Regions from separate parts of the Homo sapiens genome. Here region 1 is linked to region 2. The links are contacts of gene promoters, found by promoter capture Hi-C in human tissues and cell types (Jung and others, 2019). All regions are on one chromosome and are shown on one strand. The core of a region is centred on a gene start or on the middle of the fragment in contact, and the rest is flanking DNA. Distances in the headings are between cores, read along the strand shown. Region 1 overlaps PPP1R3D (protein phosphatase 1 regulatory subunit 3D). Region 2 holds the start of VAPB (VAMP associated protein B and C).

Region 1 (6,346 bases), core at 3,645-6,144, 1.5 Mb after region 2:
GAGCCGCCGCGGGACGCATCAGGCCCAGCTGCGCGGAGGGGCTGGCGGCCTCAACCGCAAGGAGAGGCCGCAGGTGGGGACGGCGGGAGGGAGAGAAGGGACTGAAGGCGCCGAGCAGGAGGAAGGTTTTGCGCGCACTCCCTTCTTCCCTAAGTGGAACCGGCAGTGGCAACAACGAGGCCGAAGGCGAAGTCCCTGCTCCCACCGCCGGCACGGTGACCCTTTTCCCAGGGTCACCCCCGAACCAACAAAGCACACACACACCCGAGATGCGCCCCAGGCCGCAGCGCCAACCCCCCTTCAGATGTCCCGGAGACAGGCGAGCAGCGGTCCCCAGGGCTCCCGTCGCCACCGCTTCTCCCGCACCCCTCAGCCTCCTCGGGCCGGCGACGCGCGCAGCCCCAGGCCTGCTCCCCGCTCGCCAAGCGCACCGCCCCGCGCCTCAGCCACCTTGACCGAGTCGCCCACGCGCGGGGGCGGCTCCGAGCGCCCATTTCCCATCCCCGAGGCCGAGGCTGGCCAGGCAGGTGCTGATGGGGAGCCTCGCGCCTGCGCGAGCCACCCTCGCCGCGAACTCTGCACAGCCCACGCCCTGGCCCAGCCTCGGCGCCTCCCCTCCGCCCACTGCCGCAGAACCGCACCCCCTCCCCCTCGGCAGCTTCCACAACGGCTCCGCCTCAACCGTCGGAAGCTTCTCGCCTGCCGGCTTGAAAGGCCAAGCCGAAGCCCCACCCTCCCTCCGCGCCCCGCCGTGGGGGAAGCCCACCCAGGCACTCTGCTCAACCTGCCTGCGGCAGGAGGCGTCCGCGTAGTGTCGGTGGAGCCGCCCCCTATGCCGCCGAGCGTCGCAACTCTGCGCCTCAGGGACCGCCGCAGCGCCTCCGGCGAACGGCGGAAGGCGGGAAGCGCCCGTCCAATCCGCGCCAGGTGCGGTCGATAGTGCGTCCAATCGGCGTCGCCGCCAGCCAGGTCCCGCCCCCCCCATCCCCCCCACCCCCGCCAACGCTCGCCGGGGTCGCCCGAGGCCTGAGCCAAGGGGGACGCTGTGGGCGCGGCTCAGGCCAGGCCCTCAGGTTAGTGGGTCCCCGCTGTCCCCGCGCTTCGGCCCGTCCTCTCGCGCTATGCTCTCCTGATGAACGCCCCGCGAGCGGAGTCACCCCCGCCAGCGAGGAGACTCGCTGCCTTGACTGGGGCCCTGGTCCCGGGACAGGCGAGCAGGAAGGGATGGAAGGGACGGAAGCGCGGGCGGGACCAGGAGAAGCCCATCCCCGCGCTATGCGTCCCCAGAGCCACTGGGACCCGCGGCTCCAGCCAGCCCTGCAGGGGCGAGCTGGACCGGGGGACCAGGGCGCCGGGCCGACGACTCCTGGGTGAGGCCTGGCTCCTGCCGGCAGGGGGCGCAGGGCCGCCTGGGCTCCTGGGTGCGGGTGCCGGAGGGCGGGAGAGACCGCAGGTCCGGAGACGGGGTGCTGAGCTGGGTACCCAACTGTGTATTCCTAGGCTCTTTCAGACGCTTCCATTTAAGAGATCCGTTTAACTTATGCAGCCAGCGGGTGCTTGTGTAAAAAATCGCAGGCCCTTCTGAGACAGGCACAGCCGCGAAAGGGTCTCCTTGCCCCTTGGCTCGCAGAGGGCGTCGGTGTTCGGCGCTCAGTCTTCTGCGTGTTTTCCCCGTGCTCGCGTTCTGAGATGGAAACTGTTCCACGTGCACTGAGATGCAGCTCGGTCTTTCTAACAGCTTCGTAATTATTTAATCATGTGGATTAACTTCATCCGAGGAATTCAATCCTCCACTGATGAGCCTACACTTCTATTACAAATAATACTGCAGCAAACCACCTTTGGATTAATATTTGTGTCGGATCAATTTTTAAAAGTTGAATTGTATGTGTAGTTAAACTTTTATAGGTATCTTCAAATCAAAATTTAAAATTATATTTTAATAACATTTTAATTTCTTATCTAAAAGGCACTAATTGTTTAAAAATATGGGATTAAGATTTAAATGTGCGGTGGAAAGCACCTGAAAAAAATAAACACAAGGTAATAGAATCAAAGCTCAGTTGTGGACCAGAGCAGATCAAATCACAGTAAATAAGCTCTCAGAGGTGTTTTAAATATTCTGCTTAGCTAGAATTACCAACTTCTTGACAACTTTGTAACTACCCCCATTGAACTTAATTTTGATATCTTAGTTTTTTAATTCAGAGCTGACAGATTACATATGCAATCTAAGGTACACAGGTGTACGCAGGGATTTGAGGGGATTTTATATGTTCAAAGCTTTCAATGCTTTTGAATTATACGTTTAAGTACTAATAATGTATAACACAAAATGTAAGAAGATCGAAGAGTGCTTCAAAATTGTGACCTGGCAATTTTGCATAATTATTTTCATACCTAGTTTTCCGCCAATAGATCTAAGATCCTTCATGGTGGAGTTGCGAACGCACAGAAATTTTCCTAATACACTTCAAAAATTAATAGTGATGATTTTTTACCTTGCCGCTTTTTAGTTGAAGAAAAATGTTAGTCTTTTTTATTGCTTCATGTGTTCAGGAAGCCTGCGGATTATTTAGTAAACATCCGTAAACTACAACATGGAAGAAAAAAAGGATATCATTAATTTTACTGTTAATTTTTTTTAAAGGTTTTAGACCGTGGCATTTCATGAAAAACCTTCTCAATTATAATCAAAATTTGGAAACTATGTGCCGTGGTTCACACATATACTCCCTGCACTTTGGGAGGCTGAGTTGATGGGATTGCTTGAGGCCAGGAATTTGAAACTAGCCTGGGCAACATAGCTAGGCCCTATCTCTACAAAAAAACAAAATTAGCCAGGCGTGGTGGCATGTGCCTGTGCACCTAGCTGCTCTACGCCGGAGGCTGAGGTAGGAGAATTCTGCTTGAGCCCAGGAGCTGGAGGCTGCAGTGAGCTATGATTGCACCACTGCACTCCAACGTTGGTGACAAGGCAAGACCTTCTCTCAAAAAAGAGAAATATCATAATGTGGCGTTCAATTAATTTAGCTTTCTGAATCAACAAGCATTTATTTGCAATATTCTATATGTCATATAACAGGTAGAGAGAGCATTGACTTTGAAACAGGTTTCAATGTTCAATTTGTTACTTACCAGCTATGGGACTTTAGGTGAATTACAGTTATGTATTGCTTAATGATAGGGGTAAGTTCTGAGAAAGGTGTCCTCCTCAAGCAATTTTGTTATTGTGTGAATATCTTAGCGTTTACTTACAAAAACCTAGATGGTATAGCCTACTACACACCTCAGGTATATATAGTACAGTCTATTGCTTCAAGGCTGCAAACCTGTATACAGCATGTTACTGCAGTGAATACGGTAGACAACTGTAACACAAGGGTATTTGTGTATCTAAACACAGAAAAGATACGGAAAAAAATCTGGTATAATTCCATGGATCCACGTCATATATACAGTTACCCTGTTGAGTGAAATGTTATGTGGCCTATGGCTGTACTTACACCACTCTGAGCTTTATTTTCAGCTAAGAAAAAGGGGATATTGTCTACCAGGTAGCATAACATTCAGAATTAAATGAAATCACATATTTAAAGCACTTAGCACTGTGGCCAAGCAAATAAGGGAAGACAAAATAAATGTAAGTTTTCTTCCCCCATGTGCAAGACTTTGTACTTAGGTGAGGGTCACGATCCGGAAGGCAGACAGACAGACACTCATTACTGCCTGCACAGTGTCATTAACTGTTGTAAGAGAAGTACATTAATGATCACATTCCCTGTATTCCCCTAGAGCTTTCTTCATACCTCATGCTGACCTGGCATATAAAATTGCATTTCCTTTTCTCAAAGACACATACAACAACTCTGCTACTGACGCTGAGGCACAATGACAAAATTTATTTTTGCCAAGGCTCTACGTTTATCAGTGTTGTAGAAAGGATAAGACTTGCATGTGAAATGATTTAGACAAGAAGTTTCTAAAGCTTGGTCTTCTGTAATTAGGCCACAAGAAAAACATACTGAAGCATAATAGAATGGCTCACAACTGTTTTTGCACATATACTTTAATACTTAGGCTTGGGTAAAATCATTTTAAATAACATATTAAAATATGTTTGGGGGGACAACCCAGCAATTGCACAGCCCACTAGAAAATTTTAACATCTAAGTAATATAACTGTTTTAGGGTCTGAAAGTTCTCCTTCAGTTGTTCCACAGCCTCTTTATCAACTAGGCAAATATATTTAAGCTTTTAAATTTCATAATGTTGGTATTTTTTAAAAGGCACGGGAGGTTCACTTAATATTAAATATATAACATTCACTTTCATAACCAAAACCTTTTTGGCAAGTGACTTTCACATAGATTATGAGATTCTCTACATGCCTTAAAATAAATCTGGCAGCTCTTAACTCATATCTAAATTCTCTGGACAACTGTCTTGCTCTCTGTTTTGGGGCCAGGGGCGTAGCAGTGAAGGCCCTAACAGGCTTGCTGACCTAATTGGACAGTTTGTTAAATAGCAGGAAATGTAACAAGGCTTCTCTCTCTCTTGCATGTTAATGTAGTGAACAGTGCTAATAGCCAGAGATTGTGCAATTTAGTCACAATATTTCAAGCCAAAATTCAGTGTTCTTATATTAAAAGATACCGAAGAAAGCTATCCTTGTTCTTTGAATTATAAAAGCACAGAGGTTGCAATGATCAGAACCAAACTGGTTAAAAGCCGAAATGCATCCTTTCAGTATTGATTTGACAGATGCCAACAAGCATTCAAAAATTTAGAGTTAATTTCTTGGTGACAGGTAGCATAAAATTGATCAGACTGGTTTCAGCTGTATCATAAGCTTCACAAATTGGAGATCTTGTCCTTCCTGGCTGTTTTTTTTTTTTTCCCACACCTTAATTCTAGCACCTGTTGTCAGACCACTGTTCAGCACCAAAAGAACTCCTCAGCCTGGAGTTCTTTGGAGTTTTAAGTGATTGCCTAACTCAGCAGGGGACAGTGGTCTTGACTTCTTGGTTGACGGTTTAAAAACATAAAAGAATTTTATATTTTAAAACTGACAAACTAGAAAATGTTAGAAACTCTATCTGAAGGCAGAAAGTATAAAGTTGGTGGGTACCTGATAAAACATGATGTATGTAAATACAGTTCAAAACAATTTAAAAGTATAAATATTTGTCAATTATTTTTCCTCCAGTGCTCTGGCTATTGCTGAAAACACCTTCTAGTTCCACCTTGTAACTGGACTCCCAAAAGATGAATGCTGACATCTTCTGATGCTTAACAAGAAATAAAAATAGTCACCTTAATCATCAAAAAGGTAATTGCAAAGGGCACTGTTGCCTGAAATTCTCTAGTCACCTGAAAACTGAAATAACTGAGGCAAGACTTCTTAAAATGCTTAGTTTCAAACTTAAACAGAATGGCCTGATAATGATCAAACATGTACAGAGAAATACATGAAATCAGAATTGTGAATGCAGAGAAATAACTGTTTTGCTAGTTTAAAAGTCTGAAGCTTTTCCCTCCTCCCCAGCTGTTAATGTAGGAGACACACAGCCTAACCAGGACAGTCTCAATGCCCAGGAATGGTTGTGTGATGACTGATAAAGCAGAAATTTCTTGCCTATTAATAGTTTCCCACTGTTAGAAGGCTACAGCCGTTGGCAATCAGATGTGGGCTCAGGTTTTCCTTATCCTGGGGCAGGAATGCCTGGAGGGACCACGATGTGGGTCACACTGTACATTCTGTTTACTGTGGGCACAAACACAGAACTTTTTTTTTTTAGCTTATTAAATCGAGAATATTCCTGAGGAGGCATCCGCTATGGGCTAAAGGTCCCAACATCACAATAATAAATAACAGCTATGTTTACAGAGACACATTCAGGACACATGCAAAAGCTTTTCCTAGCAGGAGGACTTGGGCCTTTGCAAAACAAGCTGCTTGGGCCTCCCCAGAGGGCCCACCCTCCCATGCACCTACCCCACCACCCTGCCCCAACTCATTACACAACTCGGCCTTCTGGCCACCTGAGGCTACTTTTTAGACCAAGTGACTCAGACGTTTCAAGTAGAAGACAGGATGGGCCACTGCCAGGGGACCTTGCAGCAGAAAATTAGGTCAGAGGACTTGGAGGGTGGTGAAGAACAACCAGATAGATGTGAGAGCCCAGCAGGGAAATGACAGGAGGCGCAGCTTAGGTGTGGAGGCTCCAGGTGGCCGGTCCCCGCGCGGCTCAGATGAAGTGGATCCAGCTCTCTTCGCACTCCCCGCGAGGCATGTGCAGCGCGTGGTTGCGACATGTGAGGCTGTAGTCTCGGTGGTCGTTGT
Region 2 (5,844 bases), core at 1,223-3,722:
AAGGCAGGATAAATAAAAAGATAACAGCATGAGCTGGGCATGGTGGCTCACGCCTGTAATCCCAACTTTTTGGGAGGTCGAGGTGGGTGGATTACCTGAGGTCAGGAGTTTGAGACCATCTGGCCAACATGGCAAAACTCTGTCTCTACTGAAAACACAAAAATTAGCTGGGCATGGTGGTGCGTGCCTGTAATCCCAGCGACTCAGGAGGCTGAGGCAGGAGAATCGCTTGAACATGGGAGGCGGAGGTTGCAGTGAGCTGAGATGGCGTCACTGCACTCCAGACTGGGGGACAGAGCGAGACTCCGTCTCAAAAAAAAAAAAAAAAAAAGATACAGCATGGTAAAACTGTAGAACATGAGAAGAGGGAGAAAAGACCAACAACCTATGAAGGAACGATGTTAAGATTGTCACTGGACTCCTGAGGAGCAATGAGGGGGAACAGGCAAACAGTGGATGGCAATCAAGTGTGCTGAGAGAGGACAGCTGTCATTCAAGCAAGCAAGCCAAAATATCTGTCAAGAACAAGGGCAAGGCCAGGCGCAGTGGCTCATGCCTGTAATCCTAGCACTTTGGCGGCTGAAGCAGGAGGATCACTTGAGCCCAGGAGTTTGAAACCAGCCTGGGCAACATAGTGAGATTTTACAGAAAATAAAAAAATTAGCTGGGCGTGGTGGTGCATGCTTTTAGTCCCAGCTACACCGGAGTCTGAGGTGGGAGGATTGTTTCAGCCTGGGAGATACAGGTTGCAGTGAGCCACGATCATGCCACTGCACTCCAGCATGGGCAACAGAGCAAGACCTCATCTCCAAATAAATAAATAAATAAAATAAAAACAACAAAAGGCAAAAATGAATCCATTTGCAGATGAGCAGAAACTGAGAGGATTTGCACCAACGAAGCTACAAAAAAATAAAATTTAAAGGATTTACCTCAGGCAAAAGGAGAGTGATCCTGTTGGTGAAAGCTGAGATGCAAGAAGAAAAGGTGGATAAAAATGGTAATTGTGTGGCTGAATCTAAACTAATGTTGACTGAATAAAACAATTTAGTAATGTCTCTTGGGGTTACAGTGGCAAAGGTTAAACTTAACATACACTACATTAAGGTGTATAATTTAGAGGATGGGTGATTAAAGTACTCCAAAGTCTTTATATTTTAAGGAAACAGGGTAAAGACATTTTTACAAATATTTAAAGATATTGGACTTTCACAAGGTAAGTATGCATGCCCAAAAGTTTGAAGTAACCACTAAAACTTAGAAATAGAGTATACAGGTGAAGAAAATCAGAATGAGAATAAAAATAAACCCTAAAGAAGAAAGGAAAGGGGAAAAAAACCAGGCAGGACAAATAGAAATAACAAAATACAATGGTAGAAATAATTCCAGATATATCAGTAAATATAATAAATGTAAATGGACTAAATGCTCCAGTTAAAATACAAAGACTATTCTTTTAAAAAACCTTTTTATCATGAAAAATTTCAAGTATACAGCAAAGTGGGAGAAACAGTACAAGAAAACCATATACCTGCGATGTAGAGTCAGCCATTGCTAGCAATTTGCCACATTTGTCTCACCTATATGGGTATGTATAGGAGACTATTAAGAACACCTATTTAACTTCCATAGTAAACATAATATAATGAAATACAATTTAAACGGTAATCATGATGTAGAGTATCCACTTTTGAGGTCAAGCAGATCTGGATTCTCCAGCAATTTTTAATTATTTAACTTACGTGTGTGGTTATTTATTCAAAAGATGTCTCTTCACTAGGCTATAGTAAAAGGATTGGAATCAGGTTCGCTTTTCTGATCATTGTATTTCTAAATATTTGTTGCATAAACAAATAGAATTTACTAGTAAAGAATTCAGCACAGTGCCAGTTGCATAGTAAACATTTAACGTAGAGTAGCTTGTATTTATTGTAGTTGCTGTTGTTATTGGAAGCATTCAGTAGAGTGATACAAAATAAATAAGCAATAATTGGTAGTTTATTATATTTATAATTATTATTTACAAGACGTCACAGTGCCTAGCCCATATCACTCACCCATAAACATTATACTTATACTAAGTACTTTCACTATTATTCAAAGTCTCTAACAGTGCCTGGCACTACATAAGCAAGAGAAAAGTGGAAGTTTATTCTAATTGTTATTATTGAATAAAGCACTTAACACGAAGCTGGCCCCCAGCGGGCCCTTAATAGTTTCCGCGGTGGCTGTCGTAGCTGGACTACAGACCCCGCCTCCTGAGCGGCCCGAAGCCCCGCCCCTTACTGCCCCGCAGTCCCGCCCCCGTGGCTTGTGCCGCGCCTGCGCACTGTCCCGGAAGGGGCTCTACGCGCGCAGCTTTAGTCCCCGCCCCTGGAGCCGGCGGCGCAGGGCGCAGCTTCCCGCCGCCAGAGCGGGCCAGCCTGCTGCGTGCGTGCGTGTGTACGACTCTGCGTGCGTGCGTGCGTGCGTGCGTGCCGTCAGCTCGCCGGGCACCGCGGCCTCGCCCTCGCCCTCCGCCCCTGCGCCTGCACCGCGTAGACCGACCCCCCCCCAGCGCGCCCACCCGGTAGAGGACCCCCGCCCGTGCCCCGACCGGTCCCCGCCTTTTTGTAAAACTTAAAGCGGGCGCAGCATTAACGCTTCCCGCCCCGGTGACCTCTCAGGGGTCTCCCCGCCAAAGGTGCTCCGCCGCTAAGGAACATGGCGAAGGTGGAGCAGGTCCTGAGCCTCGAGCCGCAGCACGAGCTCAAATTCCGAGGTAAGCCCCAGAGGCCGCCACCTTCCTGCCCGCGGCCTCCGCCCCAGTGCTGGAAGGACGGAGCCCGGCGCGGCGGGTGACGTCGGCCCTCGTCCCCACCCCGACGGCGCTGTCGCGGGGGGCGGCGAGGCCGGGCCGGGCCTTGGCGCTCGCCGCGCTCCCCAGAACTGCCCGGAGTGGCCGGGACCCGAGAGGGCTGGTGCGGGAGCCGGGGCCTGCGCCTCCTCCCCGACCCCCAGCCTCCTGGGACTTGCCTTCGAGGCACTTGTCACTTTGTAACTTACCAGTTTGTGATCCTCTCTAGTGTGAGCCTCCGCCGCTGCCTTTGCCTAGAAGTTTCTTCCCCTGCTCCGTGACAGTGTTGACCTCAGGGCTTAGTTGAGGTGTCAGCTGCTCAGAGAGGCCTGCTGTGACCACCCAGCCACCGTGCACACCTGCTGTCATTCCCTATTCCGTCACTGTTTCGTGGTCAGCACGGCACTTTTCATACCCAAAATCACTGTTTCAATACTAGAAGGGAAACTGCATGAGGACAGGCTCTTGTCAGTTCGCTGCTGTGTACCCAGCACACATTATACGCCTAGTAAATAAATACCTGTTGAACCAACAGATGAACATGTTGAACCAACAAATGAACCTCCTCAGGACTTCTGATGGGATTGGGCCCATTTTCCTTTCACTGCGTCCCTCATGCTGTCTCCTGGTTGCGGTGCAAGGAGGCTGCCACGGTGCTGGGATCCTTTTTCTCCGCAGAGCTGTCTGGAGCAACACCTGCGGCGATGGGAAGCCATGACCCTGGTTTCTCCCAGATACTATTACCTCTGTAATTTGTGCCTTTATGTTTTCTATGTTGTTACTTTTGTTTTTTTTTTTTTTTTCCTACCTTCACCAGGGCCACGAGGTAAAAGTTCTTGTCTGACATGCTCATTCTTTCTTTTTGCGTGTATCCAGTGATGTGGGAGGCTCTGGGGAGGTGATGGATGCACAAGACAGATAAGGCCTCTGCTCTCACAGAGCTTACCTTCCGACGAGGACAGACAAACCAACACACAAGATCATTGCAGATAGTGCTAAGTGCTGTGTAGGAAATGGAACAGTCTGACTCCATGGAAGCGTACTTTAGATTGGAAGGCCGGGTCTCCACTATATCGCTAGCACCGGACTCACAGTAGATGCTCAGTTGGTATTTATGAATGAATGAATGGCCAGAGGCTCTCCAGTTTATATGTCCTATTGGGAAGTAGTGTAGGGTAACTTACCCAAAGTTACCCAGTTGGCAAATGGTACATTTGAACCCAGACTTCAGAGTTCACGCTCTTAACCGTTTTGCTGTCTGATCGCTGGGAAATACTCCAGAACGGTGGCTGTCACTTTGCCTTCCAAGTTAACAATGTGAAATAACTCTGAATTTACAGAGAACCAAAGGCTTTCCAATTAAAATGAAAAAACCGAAAAACCCCACCAAACCTACCGTGGATTGTAATTCCAGGATAGTACTTGAGCTTTCATGATGTTCTCATGGCCTTCTGGGGATGCCAGATTGGGAAAGAAGTCCAGGTAGCTAAAGTGAAAATAGTGAGCCTTAGTTTCCACTTGAGTTGTCTGAAGTTCTTTCTCTATCTGGGAGGCCTGGCTTGGCTTCTCCTGATAATTGGTGGGTTCATTCGGTTAGTCCACAAACATTTACTGAGTACCTGATCTGTGTGTCAGATACCCAGAGAAGCCAAGTTATATCAGCTGTACTCTCCTATTTTCCCTCAACCTCCTCCCAGTACTTTAGGGAAGGGGGCAGATGAGAATAACAGCCAGGACAGGACAATGATGTAGGGTAGTCCAGAGTGCTCCAGGAGCATTGAGGAGGTCAACTCCTGAAAGAGGTGTCATTTGAGCTCAGTTATAAAGGTCGAGTAGAAGAAGGCTCAAAGAAGGAAAGGGTGGGGAACATTTCAGACAGAGGAAATTGCATGCACAGAGGCACAAACACTGAGATGACTGGGCTCCTTTGGGATGCCACTAGTAGTTTTTTTTTTTTTGAGATAGAGTTCTCACTCTGTCACCCAGGCTGGAGTGCAGAGGCGCCATCTCACTGCAGCCTCTGCCTCCCAGGTTCAAGTGATTCTCCTGCCTCAGCCTCTTGAGTAGCTGGGATTACATACAGGCATGTGCCACTACGCCTGGCTAAATTTTGTATTTTTAGTAGAGACGGTGTTTCACTATGTTGGCCAGGCTGGTCTCAAACTCCGGACCTCAAGTGATCCGCCCTCCTTGGCCTCTCAAAGTGCTGGGATTACAGGCGTGAGCCCGGCCACCACTAGTGGTTCTGAATGACAGCAACAAAGAACATTTGTTGTGGTTGCCTGGCAAGATGGGAGACAAGGCTGGTGAGTAGACAAGAGTCAGATCTCAGTCCCTTTATGCATAGATGCAGCCAGTGTCCAAGTTAAAATTGTGTTGCTTCTCCTTGAGCAGTCCTTCCTTGCATTAACTTTCTGAAAACCCCCAAATCCCAGTACAAACTCTGTTGTCTAATATGTTATGGAAAGAGGCACTCATTTGAGAAAATTTAAGATTTTGTTCAATTGTTTTACTGAAAGATGTGTGACCTTAGGCCACTTCACTCCTCAAAGCCTGGGGTGGTTATTCGGTCAATGGGGATGATGCTCGTGTCCACGTTGCCTCTTGTAGAACGTGTTTAGAAGGAATGACATGGCTGTTAGTGGCTTTGTAAGTGCATAGTACTATACAGAGATTAGACAACCACTTAACTACTTAAGTGGTTTCATCACTTCTGTACCTGAAAGGTGTGGCAGAGAATAGCGATCATTCTGGCCCTGGATTGGCCAAAGTAATTATGCCAAAGTCACTGGATATTTTTGCTAGGGAAGTGGTCCAAGAGAAGTGGTACCAAATTGTTGAAGGCCTCTGGCTCATAACTTTAGAAGAGACATCTGTGTGTGTTCTTAAATGACGTCATGAGGTGTGTTGTTTGTTTGTTTTAAACTGAATGCTAAGACAGTACAATTAATAGAGACTGAATACCCTGACTTAGAGATAATTCATTTCAGGATGAGAAATGGCACATT

Evidence for each region. Contacts are between HindIII fragments. The study calls those that stand out against the background at their distance.
Region 1: a contact is called between a fragment that was not itself captured here and the fragment with the promoter of VAPB in region 2, in 1 of the 25 tissues and cell types used here (dorsolateral prefrontal cortex).

What each region holds. Positions count from the first base shown.
Region 1 is chr20:59,932,781-59,939,126 of GRCh38, forward strand. PPP1R3D (protein phosphatase 1 regulatory subunit 3D) reads right to left here. Exons shown (of 1, transcript NM_006242.4): 1 at 3,883-6,346. The coding sequence ends at 6,252. SYCP2 (synaptonemal complex protein 2) reads right to left here and starts at 857. Exons shown (of 45, transcript NM_014258.4): 1 at 789-857. It also overlaps a transcript of FAM217B not described here. RefSeq lists a silencer at 1,148-1,547. The HindIII fragment of the contact is 3,518 bases long and covers 3,136-6,346 here.
Region 2 is chr20:58,386,757-58,392,600 of GRCh38, forward strand. It overlaps VAPB (VAMP associated protein B and C), which reads left to right and starts at 2,473. Exons shown (of 6, transcript NM_004738.5): 1 at 2,473-2,761. The coding sequence starts at 2,704. RefSeq lists silencers at 2,182-2,621, 2,882-3,001. The HindIII fragment of the contact is 14,716 bases long and covers 1-5,844 here.